Linked DNA regions of Homo sapiens: all the other regions are linked to region 2. The links are contacts of gene promoters, found by promoter capture Hi-C in human tissues and cell types (Jung and others, 2019). All regions are on one chromosome and are shown on one strand. The core of a region is centred on a gene start or on the middle of the fragment in contact, and the rest is flanking DNA. Distances in the headings are between cores, read along the strand shown. Region 1 overlaps SUSD1 (sushi domain containing 1). Region 2 holds the start of KIAA1958. Region 3 overlaps SUSD1 (sushi domain containing 1). Region 4 has its middle 32 kb from the start of LINC02977.

What was found. Contacts are between HindIII fragments. The study calls those that stand out against the background at their distance.
Region 1: a fragment that was not itself captured here is called in contact with the fragment with the promoter of KIAA1958 in region 2 in 1 of the 25 tissues and cell types used here (mesendoderm cells).
Region 3: a contact is called between a fragment that was not itself captured here and the fragment with the promoter of KIAA1958 in region 2, in 1 of the 25 tissues and cell types used here (aorta).
Region 4: a fragment that was not itself captured here is called in contact with the fragment with the promoter of KIAA1958 in region 2 in 1 of the 25 tissues and cell types used here (H1 embryonic stem cells).

The regions. Positions count from the first base shown.
Region 1 is chr9:112,120,149-112,123,319 of GRCh38, forward strand. All of the region lies in intron 6 of SUSD1 (sushi domain containing 1), which reads right to left. Among named protein-coding and RNA genes, the nearest start is that of SUSD1, 54 kb to the right of the region's middle. RefSeq lists an enhancer at 346-917. The HindIII fragment of the contact is 3,498 bases long and covers 19-3,171 here.
Region 2 is chr9:112,484,812-112,488,076 of GRCh38, forward strand. KIAA1958 reads left to right here and starts at 2,016. Exons shown (of 4, transcript NM_133465.4): 1 at 2,016-2,307. It overlaps HSDL2-AS1 (HSDL2 antisense RNA 1), which reads right to left and starts at 2,833. Exons shown (of 5, transcript NR_171779.1): 1 at 2,168-2,833; 2 at 1,579-1,730. RefSeq lists an enhancer at 1,495-1,554 and silencers at 1,985-2,044, 2,125-2,614. The HindIII fragment of the contact is 14,239 bases long and covers 1-3,265 here.
Region 3 is chr9:112,074,646-112,078,143 of GRCh38, forward strand. All of the region lies in intron 12 of SUSD1 (sushi domain containing 1), which reads right to left. Among named protein-coding and RNA genes, the nearest start is that of LINC02977, 36 kb to the left of the region's middle. RefSeq lists an enhancer at 2,446-2,545. The HindIII fragment of the contact is 3,586 bases long and covers 1-3,106 here.
Region 4 is chr9:112,006,616-112,010,217 of GRCh38, forward strand. No RefSeq gene overlaps it. Among named protein-coding and RNA genes, the nearest start is that of LINC02977, 32 kb to the right of the region's middle. The HindIII fragment of the contact is 4,293 bases long and covers 1-3,602 here.

The DNA of each region.
Region 1 (3,171 bases), core at 518-3,017, 360 kb before region 2:
TTTTAAAATTTAGCCATGCGTGGTGGGTCATGTCTGTAGTCCCAGCTGCTTGGGAGGCTGAGGCAGAAGGATCGCTTGAGCCCAGGAGTTGGAGGCTGTGGTGAGCTGTGATCACTGCACTTCAACCTGGGTGACAGAGTGAGACTCCATCTCCAACAACAACAACAAAATACACAGAGACAGTTGGGATGAGGGGAGTGAAGAAATAGGTAACAAGTGAAAAACAGGGAAAAGAAAAAAGAAGAGGGGTAGCTGAGCAAGAGCCATGGTAATCAGCAGCTCTCACTACATTACCAGAAGCCTCTCCTACCTACCCACCCAGAGATCATCTGCACTGTACCATGAATTAATCAGCATGTAAATCATCCCCTTTATCTGCGGAAATTGAATTTAGCTGCCAATCCTGATTGAGGGCATAAAGGCCTCCTCACAGAAAGATCACAGCTCTCAGGGAGAATGCCTTTTCTTTTCTTAAATCAAAGCTTGCATAAACCCATGGAAACAGCTGCAGCTGGAGCCACAGACTTTGTGAAAGGTAGCAGGCTGAGGATGGTAATTATAATTAGCAGTTACATAACATGTTTGTTCTTCAAAGTGCTCTACAAGCATCAGCTAATTAATAGCTTACTATGCCCCATGCAGATCCACTGGTTTTTCATGCGGTGACTAATTCTTATACCCCCATTGACTGCTGAATGTTGGAGGCAGAGCAGCTTGAGCAATGAAGCAAATGGCTGAGGCTCACAAGCTATACCCAGCTCTTACCAAGTGACTCCAGCAGTTGTTCTGTGTCGGGAATACTTCCCCAAACATTGAATTCAGCATTCCAGGAGGCAGCTACCTCACCTCCTCCAAATAACTCTTGGAGATGCTTTTGCAAATGCCATGATAGGTTGGAGTGACCATCAGTCTAGTCCAGCGTGGCATTAGCTCCAATTATTAAGACTGGACCCCCCTAGAGTCTTTGGTGTCAGTTACACGTTTGCCCTTGCTCCTCTGTGCAGGCTGGGCAAGTCAATGAGACCTCTCTAAGAGAAGACTGCATTGTATCTCTGGGTTCTTATCCAGCTCTACCCTTCTTTGTTTTTCTGATTGCAGTCTCTGGCCTACATCCTCTTGAATTCGCGATGGAGATAACCAAATATAGGAATTGCATGGCACATACAGGGCCTCAACAGCAGAGGTGAGCTTTCCATCTATCCCAAGAATGCTTTACTCAAGGATTTCAGAGGTCCAGGAACACCTTGCTACTTGTAAAACATTATATGTGTATGTGTATGTGCATACCTTTGGGGAAAAGGTCTGTTTCCCCTGTTGCACTGTAAATTCCAAGAGGGTCATGCCGACAAAGTACCTGACAAATAGTGTATGCTAAATAGATATCTATTGAATGAATGGACAGATTTCCTCAAATTCCCATCCCCAACATCGTTATGAACCACTGCTCTATGGACAAATAATCCCCAGGGGCCTACATGTCTTGTTTGCTCTGGCCAGAATTTCCGATGGAAAATGTTGGTGGGCAAGACCACAATTCTGCTGCTAGTCAAACCAGAGACCCAGATCAAAGCTCCTGGAGATTTCACTCTTCAGAGACCTGTCTTCAGAGCCAAGCAAGTCAACAGCCAGAAATATATTCCCAGGGACTATGTGACAACCATTTGTCATACCTTCTGATCAACCACCACAAATGGTAAGAATCATTGCCTTTTCTCACCTTGTTCCTCAGAGGCAGAGGTGTGAAATGAATCATGTAGAAGTACACGCTTCTGATTCATGAGAAGATCTTCACATGAGGCTAACAACTTTAGGAAAAAGACTAACATGTGCATGGTGCTTTCAGCTTTCTAAAATGCGCCCCACAGATTATCTTATTCGATTCCTTTTCAACACTCTCTGAGGTAAGAAAAACAGACTTTATTTCCCTCTTTTATAGATGAGGAAACCGAGGCTCAGAATGCCTGGCCTAATGACACACAGCTAATATATGGCATTGCTAGAATATGAAGTGAAGTCTCAAAACTCCTTTTTTAATTGAGACAGAGTCTCGCTCTATCCCCCAGGCTGGAGTACAGGGATGTGATCTTGGCTTACGACTGTCTCCTGGGTTCAAGCAATTCTCCTGCATCAGCCACCTGAGTACTGGGGACTACAGGTGTGCACCGCCACACCTGGCAAATTTTTAATTTTTTGTAGAGATGGGGTCTCTCTATGTCACCCAGGCTGGTCTTGAACTCCTGGGCTCAAGCAATCCTCCTGCCTTGGCCTCTCAAAGTGCTGGGATTACAGGTGTGAGCCACTGCACCCGGCTAATTTTTGTATTTTTAGTAGACATGGGGTTTCATCATGTTGGCCAGGCTGGTCTTGAACTCCTGACCTCAAGTGATCCACTGCCTCAGCCTCCCAAAGTACAGAGATTACAGGTATGAGCCATTGCACCAGGCCTCAAGACTCCTTTTCACCAGCAATTCCACTTCTGGATATATATCCAAAAGAATTGAAAACAGGGTCTCAAAGAGAGATTTGTACACACATTTCATAGCAGCATTATTCATCATAGCCAAAAGATGGAACACACACCCAAGTGTCCATCAACAAATGAATGGATAAACAAAACATGGGATACTCATATAATGGACTATATGAAGAATGGAAATGTTGACACATGTTACAACATGGATGTATCTTAAAGACATTATGCTTAGTGAAATAAGCCAGTCTCAAATGAACAAGTACCATATGAGATACCTACAGTAGTGAAATTCACAAGAGACAGAAAGTAGAAGGGTGAGGTTCCAGGGGCTGTGGGGAGGGGCAAATGGGGAGTTGTTGTTTAATGGGTATAAAGTTTCAGTTTTGCAAGATGAAAAAGTTCTGGAGATTGGTTGTGCAACAAGATTGGTATACATAAACACTACTGAACTGCACACTTAAAAATAGTTAAGATGGTGTATTCATCAGTTTCATGTTGCTATAAAGGAATACCTGAGACTAGGTAATTTATAAAGAAAAGAGGTTTATCCAGCTCATGGTTCTGCAGGCTGTACAAGAAGCATGGCACCAGCATCTGCTTCAGGTGAGGGCCCTGGGAAGTTGACAATCGTGGCAGAAGGTGAAGAGGGAGCAGGCATGTCACACAGCAAGAGAGGGAGCCAGAAAGAGAGAAGGAGG
Region 2 (3,265 bases), core at 766-3,265:
TTGAAACTCTGTACCCAGTAAACATTATATCACCATTTTCCCCTCCCTCTACCCTCTAGCAACCACTATTCTACCGTCTTGTTTCCACAAGTTTGACATAATCCCACAGTTTACATACCTCTACATAGTTCATATAGGTCAAATCATAACAGTATTTGTCCTTTTGTGACTGGTTTATTGCACTTGGCACAACATCCTCAAGGTTCATCTATGTTGTAGCCTGTGATAAGATTTCCTTCCTTTTTAAGGCTGAATAATATTCCATTATATGTATATATCACATTTTCATTCATCTCTTCATCTGTTGATGAACATTTGGGCTGCTTCAACCTCTTGGCTATTGTGAATAGTGCTGCAATGAACATGAATGTGCAAATATCTCTTCGATATCCTGCTTTCAATTCTTTTGGATATTTACCCAGAAGTGGGATTGCTGGATCATATGGTAGCTCTAGTTTTAGTTTTTTGAGGAACTTCCCCACTGTTTTGCATAGTGGTGGTACCATCTACATTCCTATCAGCATTGCATAAGAGTTCCAATTTCTCCACAAGATCCCATCTTTAGAATATGCAGCAATTAACTAGGGGGTTTTCATTTTTGGTCTTTTTTGTTTGTACAAACATTATTGTGTCAACATTTACACAGATTTTAAATTTCAGCCTAGACCTGGAAGAGTGTTGATAGAGGAAGGTGTTAAGAACATCAACCGGAATCAGCTCTAGAGATGGAGAGGGGTTGGCAGAAGCTACCTAAAAGAGAACATGCTTGATGTGGTAATGAAGTTACCTGCTTGGATTCTGGACGACCCTGGATATTTTCTCCTTTGCTAAGAAGTTAGCTTCTTTCTCTCCCTCAAAAATATTCTTCTCTTCCCTTACCTACTCCAAGGGTACAAGTGACTGGGGTATGCCTGTCACAGATGAGGTGAGGCCAAGATGTGGGCACTACGTAAGGCCTGACAGATATGGTGTAAATGTTATTTATTACCATGATTACTGTTTTGGAGATGGTCAGTGCTGTAAATAGAAAGGGAGTTAAGAGCAGACTCTGAAGCCAGACTGTCCGGAATGAATCCAGGCTCCTCTAGCTACTATCTATGTGATGTTGAAAAAATTTCTTAATTTCTCTGTGCCTCAGTTTCCTTATCATAAAATGGCAATGTTAATAGCACCCACTATGTAGAGTTCTTAGGATTAAATAAATTAATATTCGCTAAGTACTCAGTGCAAACTGTGGGCACACAGCAAGTACTACGAAAGTGTTAGGTAAAATAAAGGTGGACCAAGCCTGGTAGCACCTAGCAAGTCCAGCTTCATCTTTGCTGTGCTGAGTCGTGTAGGTGGTGTTCTTGTGTCTCTGGTTTGCTGGAGGACCTAGTTTTAGTGTATTTTAGGTATCATTAAGCATCCCCGCTCCCTCGATGGGATAGGGGTGTGTGTGTTACAGGTGGTTGTTGGGCACCTTCACGGGGCAGCGGTGACTATGGGCTGTACGTAGTATCTCGGTAGAAAGTGTTAATGCACATCCCTGGGCGGAGAGGTAACTCTACTCAATGCGTTATAAGGGAAATCACACACCTCACGGATGGTGTAGGTTCTGTCTGCTCCTTGCGTTTCAGTGGAGGTGCACAGAGCTCCGGGGGGCATCGGGGACCGCGGGCCCAGGACGTGTAGTAGGGAGCAGTGCTGTACACTTCCTCGGACCATAGCGGGGACGGCGGGTTCCACACCTGTCGGGGCAGTAGGGACTGAGCTCGTGCGCGCGGAGGATGGATTGCTCCAACCTCTCGGTCCAGCGCGCCGGCCGCCGCGTGCGAACGTGTGTGCGGCAGGAGGCTCGATCTACACCTCCTCGGGGCAGCAACGACTGCGAGCTCGGTGCGTGCCGTAGGAGGTGTCGTTACACACTTCCTGTGGGTCTCGCCGACCACGGCGCGTTTCCGGTGCCGGCTGGAGCCCGGGGTCCGAGCCCCCGCCCCGCTCGCCGGCCCCGCCCCGGCCCGCCCGCGCCCCGCCCCCTGCCCGCCCGCCGCGCTCCGAGCCGGGCGCGCGGAGCTCGGGGCGCACGGAGCGGCGCGCGGCGGTCGGCCGAGCCAGGCTGGCGCCCCCGCCCCCCGCCCCGCTCCTCGGTCCGCCGCCCGCCGGGCGCCTTCCCCGCTCCACTTACCTTTGGTGCCCGGCCCTCTGGCCGCTCTCCTCCCGCCCTCGCGCCCCTTCGGCCCGTCCCGTCCAGCCCGGGCTGCCCGGCTCTCGCAGGCCCCCCCGCGCCGACCGCGTTCCTATGGACAGACGCACAGACACCTGCAGGTGGGTGAGAGCCCGCGCGCGGGGCGGGGACGAGTGCGCCGACGCCGCGACCCAGGCGGGGAGCCCCTTTGTGTGGGGGGCGGCCGCGCCGGGGTCGACTCTGCTTCCCCGTCAGCGGCCGCGCGGTGACCCGGCTGAACCTTCCTTTTGTCTCCTCTCGGGGGAGCGAGGCCGGAGCGAGGGCAGGGACCCGGGCGGCCGCTCGTCGGCAGCGCCGGGCTTGGGGGTGCGAGGCGCAGAGACCCCCGGTGGCGGCTCCGGTCCGCCTGCCCCGGGCCGCCCCGCCGCCCGGCAGCTCGGGTCTCAGCGGCGGCTGCAGGCGCAGTGCGTGGGGCTGGCGCCCCCGCTCCTGCTCTTGGGTCTGTCGGAGGTGGGAAGGAGGGCGGGAAGGAGGAGGAAAAGGTCTGTCCTCTTAGTTTCCAAGTCTTGAGATGCTTATGGAGAAAGAGAGGTGGTTCAGGGCTCTGCCCCACTAGTTTTCCTCCTCGGGTGGCTCGCCGAGGTGCGTTTGGGGCGTGTGTGAAGGAACGTGCATGGCTTCGCTCCCTTATTTATTGTTTCTAACGGAGGAGGGCTTTCTCCAAAAGGCTCTTCCGCCCCCCCACCCCCATCTGAGGCTGCGCACAGTGATTTGTGTTTGTTATCAAATATATCGAGAAATGTATTCCCCTGGGTAGGAGGAGGTTGGACTGAACAACGTCAAACCAAAATCAAAGAATGTTTTTGGTTCCTTCAAGTCTTTTTTTTTCTTTAAGGTTTTAGATTGGGACTTTAAAAAAAATGAACGTGGCTGTGATTTTTACAATTATATGTATTTAGTGTGTGTGCGTGTGTGTGTGTGTGTGTGTGTGTGTGTTTTGAAGTTTAGGAGTAAAGTTTTGTTTTTTCCCGAACTCGTTAGGATTCGCAAGACGGAATCCTCTCCCGACGAAATAAACAGCTAACAAGCCAGTCAGGT
Region 3 (3,498 bases), core at 64-2,563, 410 kb before region 2:
AAATCCTTAGCCTAACACATCTGCCAAAATTCAAAAGTTCATGATTTTACCGAAATAAGGCCACACACTTCTTAGGAAACCACGAGTATCTCTGCACATCAACACATAAGCTTCTCTTTTTTCCTCCTTTTATAAAAGAAAGGGGTTGGTTTTTTTTTTTTTTTAACTCTTTCATAAGATCAAAGCAACTTGATTTTTTTATGCTTCTTTAAAATTACGAGTCCTTTAAAGTGGGTAGAGTTGGAAAATAGGCATCTCAATGAACATTAAACAGCTCAACAATGTCCCCTGGTGGCCATGAGCACAGAGAGAGGGAACTTGAGCCACTAAAGCTCTATTCAGCCTACCAAACAAGGAGTAAGTGTCTCATCAAGATGAAACCCCCTCCCCTTTACTCAAAAAAATATGCAACGGTCCTTCAAACCAGAAAAGCACAGCATCCAAATATGAGAAAGACCACAGAGTAGGAAATGGAGATGGAGTCGCTATTCATTTTAATAAGTCACCACAGAAAGAAATGCCCAGACTGAACACCACTTGTCTCTCCAGCCCAAAATGTGGGGAATTCTTTCTGGTAGCCAGAATTCATTGCCTAACCAGACATCTCCTCAACACCAATACCACCCACTGGCTGTTATTTTAAAATTTTGGGCTGTTATGCTATCTATCAGTACCATTCTTACCCACTGAGGGTTGAATGTAAAACATACAGACAAAAATCACTGTCTTCAGGAAGCTCCTATTTTAGTGGGAGAGAAAGAAAATAAAAAAAAAATAAGTTTTTAGAAAACAAGCTCTAGGCTGGGCACAGAGACTCATGCCTATAATCTCAGCACTTTGGGAGGTGAGATGGGAGGATCACTTGAGGCCAGAAGTTCAAGACCAGCCTAGGCAACATAGGGAGACCCTCATCTCTACAAAAAATAAAAACAAAAAAATCCCTTTTGTAATTAGCCAGGCATGGTGGTGAGCGCCTATAGTCCCAGCTACTCAGCAGGCTGAGGCAGAAGGATTGCTACAGCCCAGGGGCTCAAGGCTGCAGTGAGTTATGATTGCACCACTGCACTCCAGCCTGGGTGACAGAGTGAGACCCTATCTCTAAAAACTAATAATTAATATTTTTTATTAATATGAAGCTCTATGAAGAAATTGAAGCAGGGTAAGTAGATACAGAGTACTAGCGTGGAGGCTGGTGATGGCAGTTGAGCAGGCACCTGAACAACTATGGAGAAGCCATATGTTGACAGTGTCCCAGGAAGTGTGAACTGCAGATGGAAAAGTCTGGAGGCTGGAAAAACTTTGACCCATTGAAGGAACTGCAAGAAGGCCAGGGAGACAGCTGATGCTTAATGGGAAAGGAGGAGAGCAGGGGGAGATGAATTAGAAGTAGGCAGGGGCCAGATGACATGTCCTATGATGAGGAACTTGGATTCCATTCTAACTTTAATGGAAACTCACTGGAGAGTTTTGAGCTGGTGCTGACATGTTCCCAAATGCATTTTTAAAAGATCACTCTGAGTGCTGAGTGATCTTTTGAAAGTTATGGTGAAGACTAAGACTAAGGTCCAGGGTGGGAGGTATATAGGCAAGAGAAAACCAGTTTGAAAACTACAGCAGGAATCCAAGCAAGAGGTGGCTGTCTTGGATTAGGGTAGTTGTGGAAAAGGCACAGGTGGGGAGAAGTGGTGGAATTCAGAATATATTTCAGACAGCAAGCCAACAGGGCTTGTTGACAGATTAGAAATTTGGGGATGGGATAGAACCAATTAGGACTTGTTTTTGGTCTGAACAATTGGGTGAACAGAAATTCCAATAACAGACAGAAAGTAACAGATAGAAACAGAGAAGCCTGGGTGGAAACCGATTTGGGGGCGAGGGCAGAGGTGAGAAATCACAAGTTCCGTTTGATTTGCGTATTAGATGTTCAATAGGACATGTGTAGAAGTTGGGTGGATATAGGAGTCTGGTGCTCAAAGGAGAGGCTGGGACTAGAAATTGATCTTTGGAAATCCTCTGCATATAGGTAATAGTTATAGCCATAAGACTGGTTGAGATCACCTAAGCAGAAAGGGTAGATAATGAAGAAAAGGAGGCTGAAGAGGGGTCATAAAAGTAGATGGAGCTAGCAAAGAAGACTGAGAGGGGACAGCAAGGCAGAAGGAACCAAAACTAAGGGAGAGGGGGTTTCAAGAGGGAGGGAGTGTCAACGCTATCGAAGAAATCAGATAAGAACAAAACTGGCCATTGGATTTGGCAAGACGGAGATCAAACGAAGAGCCTTTCAGTAAAGCAATGAAGACGTATGTTTCCCACGTGGGATGAGTGAAAGTGAGAACAGGAGGTAGGGCTGTGGAGCCTACAGAACAGCCATTTCTTTCAAGGAGTTTTTATAGAAAGGGGCAGAGAGAAGGCAAAGTAGCTGAAGACAAATATGGGCTCAAAGAAGGTCTGCTCATTTTTTCTTTCTTTTCGTTCACAAGGAGGATGTTGCAACATGCTAGGCAATGCTGGGGATAATTCTGTATTGAGGGGAAGTGCTGATCAGGGAAGAAGGGATGGGATCTAAGGCACAAGTTGAGGGGATGGCAGCCTTACACACGAGCAGGGACAGGAAGGGAGGCAGAACAGGATGCAAGGAGGAACGGCAGGGCTGAGCGTGGGAAGTCCTCACCTGACTACTTCTAATTTCTCAGTGAAATAAGAATCAAGAAGCTAATATGCTTAGTATTTGCTCAGAGCATGTGTGAAGTGGGGGTCACAGATGTGAAGAGGGAGGAGAAAATGAGTGGAAAGTGAATTTACTGGGGCCCTATAGCCGGAGGACTACAATCATTGTCCCCTGATAGTAATCTACTTTTTTTTTTTTTTTTTTTTTTTTTTTTTTGAGATGGAGTTTTGCTCTTGTTGCCTAGGCTGGAGTGCGATCTCAGATCAACACAACCTCCACCTCCTGGGTTCAAGCAATTCTCCTGCCTCAGCCTCCCGAGTAGCTGGGATTACAGGCACCTGACACCACACCCAGCTAATTTTTGTATTCTTAGTAGAGGTGGGGTTTCACCACGTCAGCCAGGCTGATCTCGAAATGATCCTCACATGATCAACCCTCCTCAGCTTCCCAAAGTGCTGGGATTACAGGTTTGAGCCACTGTGCCTAGCTAGTAATCTACTCTTAAAGTACTTGCAACAGGATGCCAACTAAATATTCCTGAGAAAGAAAGAGCCACAAGCATTTTTTGTTTAAGTATAAAGTATTTTAAATGCTTTAAATATCCAGAAGCTATACAACCAACACCATGGATGGACACACTACCCACATTTCATCAATGCTGACATTTTGTTTCAGGTATCTTCCCCCTCCCCCTCCCCACAGACCTCCCCTGTGGTTATTAGGTATCTTTTTAAAAATAAAACATAACAGGCTGGGCGCAGTGGCTTACACCTGTAATCCCAGCACTTTGGGAGGCCGAGGCAGGTGGATTGCTTGAGCCCAGGAGTTCG
Region 4 (3,602 bases), core at 687-3,186, 480 kb before region 2:
CACAAAAGCCAGGGCCAAGCAGGAGCAGAGAGGCAACTGTCACATCTCACGCAAAGTCACATTATCAGCCATGGCACTGGTGGCTGGGTGGCAGATACCAGTGTACTCCAAAAGGGTTGGGGGCTCCGAGTGTGCATCAGCTTGCAGCATCAGTGGAAGCATCGGTCAGCTCTGCTCCTCTTCCTGGCCTTGGGGCCTCTCCAGGCCGCCCCCCACTCTGACATCTGATCCCATTCAGACTCTCCCCCCGCTGTTCTCTTGGGTATTCCCATCACAGCTATGATCATGAGATTATGCTGTGTTTGTTAGAGGCACAGTGGGAGGGTGAGAGAATGGTATTAATTCTCAGGACTAGTTACAACCCTCCAAAGAAGGGGAAAATGCGTGGTGCAAAGTGTTTTTTCCAAAGCTAGGCCTTATCTTGCCCGCAGTGTGGTAGCCACAGACAGGAGCGTCAGCAATTTTGTATGCCTCCTGCGTTGGACCGCAAAGGAGACAGAGGTGGTCCTAAAATGCACTTTCAGGCACTATCTCATTTAATTCTCACACTTCTGGAGGCATAGGGGTTGTTGCTGGAATTTTGCAGATGAGGAAATGAAGGCTTGAAAATGTTAATGATCGGCAGTGGTCATACAGCCAGTGGAAGAACCAGAGTTCGAACCCGGGTCGTGCTGATTCTTGTCCAGTATGGCTCACCTACCTGAGATTCAGTCCCTGAACTCAGAAACTCACAAGAAATGTATAAGTGTATCTCATTCTATTGTGCTTTGCTTGAGTGTACTTTACAGATATTGTGTTTTTTACAAATTGAAGTCTTGTGGCAACCCTGAGTCCAGCAGGCTATCGGTGCCAGTTTTCCAATGGCATGTGCTCACTTCATGTCTCAGTGTCACATTTTGATAATTTTGAAATATTTCAAACTTTTCCATTATTATGTCTGTTACAGTGATTTATGATCTGTGATCTTTGACGTTGCTATTGTAACTGTTTTGGGGTGCCACAAACCATGCCCATATAAGATGGTAAACATACTTGATAAATGTGTGTGTACTGACTGCCCCACCAACTGGCCATTTCTCTGTCTCTCTCACTCTCCTTGGCCTTCATAGGGAATAGGGATCCCCTGAGACACAACGATACTGAAATTAAATCAATTAATAACCCCACATCCGTCTGTAAGTGTTCAAGTCAAGGGGAGAGTCACACATTTCTCCCTTTAAATAAACACTAGAAATGATTAAGCTTAGTGAGGAAGGCATGTCAAAAACCAAAAAAGGCTCATAGCTAAGCCTCATGCGCCAGACAACCAAGTTGTGAATGCAAAGGAAAAGTTCTTGAAAGAAATTAAAAGTGCTACTCAGTGAACACACGAATGATAAGAAAGCAAAACAGCCTTATTGCTGATATAGAGAAAGTTCAAACGGTCTGTATAGAAGATCAAACCAGCCACAACATTCCCTTAAGCCACAGGCTAATCCAGAACAAGGGCCTAAGACTCTTCAGTTCTATGAGGCTAAGAGAGGTGAGGAAGCTTCAGAAGAAAAGCTTGAAACAAGCAGAGATTTGTTCATGAGGTTTAAGGGAAGAAGCTGGCCAAGCACAGTGGCTCATGCCTGTAATCCTAGCACTTTGATAGGCCAAGATGGGAGGATCACTTGTGCTCAAAAGTTCAAGACCAGCCTGGGCAATATAACAAGACCTCATCTCTATGAAAAATGATTTTTTTAAAATTGGCTGGGCATGGTGGTGCTCACCTATAGTCCCAGCTGCTTGGGAGGCTGAAATGGGAAGATCACTTGAGCCTGGAAGGTCAAGGCTGTAGTGAGCCATGATCATGCCACTGCACTCCAGCCTAGGTGACAGAGCAAACCCCTGTCTAAAAAAACAAACAAACCAAACAAGCAAACAAACAAACAAACAAACAAACAAACACAAGGAAAGAGGCTGTCTCCATAACATAAAAAAGTACAAGTTGAGGCAGTGCTGATACAGAAGCTATAGCAAGTTATCCAGAAGATGTAGAAGATGTAGCTAAGATCATTGATGAAGGTGGCTACACTAAACAACATATTTTGTAGATGAAACAACCTTCTATTGGAAGAAGATGCCATCTAGGACTTTCACAGCTAGAGAGAAGTCAATGCCTGACTTCAAAGCTTCAGAAGACAGGTTGACTCTCTCATTAGAAGCTAATACAGCTGTTGACTTTAAGTTAAAACCGATGCTCATTTACCATTCCCCAAATTCTAGGGTCTTAAGAATTATACAAAATGTACTCTGCCTGTAGAGAGTGCTAGATCACAAAACATCTGTTTACAGACTGGTTTGCTGAATGTTTTAAGCCCACTCTTGAGACCTATTGCTCAGGAAAAAAGATCCCTTTCAAAAGATAACTGCTCACTGACAACGTAACTAGTCACCCAAGAGTTCCCAAGAGTTCTGATTGAGATATAAAAGGAAATTAATGTCATTTTTATGCCTACTAACACAACATCCATTCTGCAGCCCATGGATCAAGGAGTCATTCTGACTTTCAAATCTTATTATTTAAGAAATACATTTCATAAGGTTGGATCTGTCATACGTTTCATAAGGCCAGACAGTGATTCCTCTGATGGATCTGGGCAAAGTAAATTGAAAAACTTCTGGTAAGGATTCATCATTCTAAATGCCTTTAAGAGCATTTGTGGGCCGGGTGCGGTGGCTCACGCCTGTAATCCCAGCACTTTGGGAGGCTGAGGTGGGTGGATCACCTGAGATCAGGAGTTCGAGACCAGCCTGGCCAACATGGTGAAACCCTGTCTTTACTAAAAATACAAAAATTAGCTGGGCGTGGTGGCAGGCACCTATAATCCCTGCTACTCAGGAGGTTGAGGCAGGAGAATTGCTTGACCTCGGGAGGTGGAGGTTGCAGTGAGCCCAGATTGCTTCATTGCACTCCAGTCTGGGCGACAGGAGTGAAACTCTGTCTCAATTAAGAAAAAAAAAAAAGCTTTTGTGATTCATAGGAAGAGGTCAAAATATCAATATTAACAGGAGTTTGGAAGAAACTGATTCTAACCCTCATGGATGACTTTGAGGGGTTCAATACATTAGTGGGGGGAAGTCACTGCAGATGTGGTGGAAATAACAAGAGAACTAGAATTAGAAGTGGCGCCTGAAGATGTGACTGAATTACTGCAATCTCATGATAAAACGTGAATGAATGAGGAATTGCTTCATATGTATGAGTAAAGAAAGTGGTTTCTTGAGATGAAATTGACATGTGGTGAATTTTCTGTGAACACTGTTGAAATGATAACAAAGGATTTAGAATATTACATAAACTTAGTTGAAGAAGTACTGGCAGGGTTTGCAAGGATTGACTCCATTTTTGAAAGAAGCTCTACTGTTAGTAAAATGCTATTAAACAGCATTGCACGCTACCAAGAAATCTTTCATGAAAGGAAGAATCAACCAATGCAACAAACTTCATTGTTGTCTTAGTTAAGAAATTTTCCCAGCCACCGCAACCTTTAGCAATCCCCACCCTGATGGGTCAGCAGTCAGCAACATTGAGGCAAGACCCCCCTCACCAGCAAAAATATTATGACTTGCTAAAT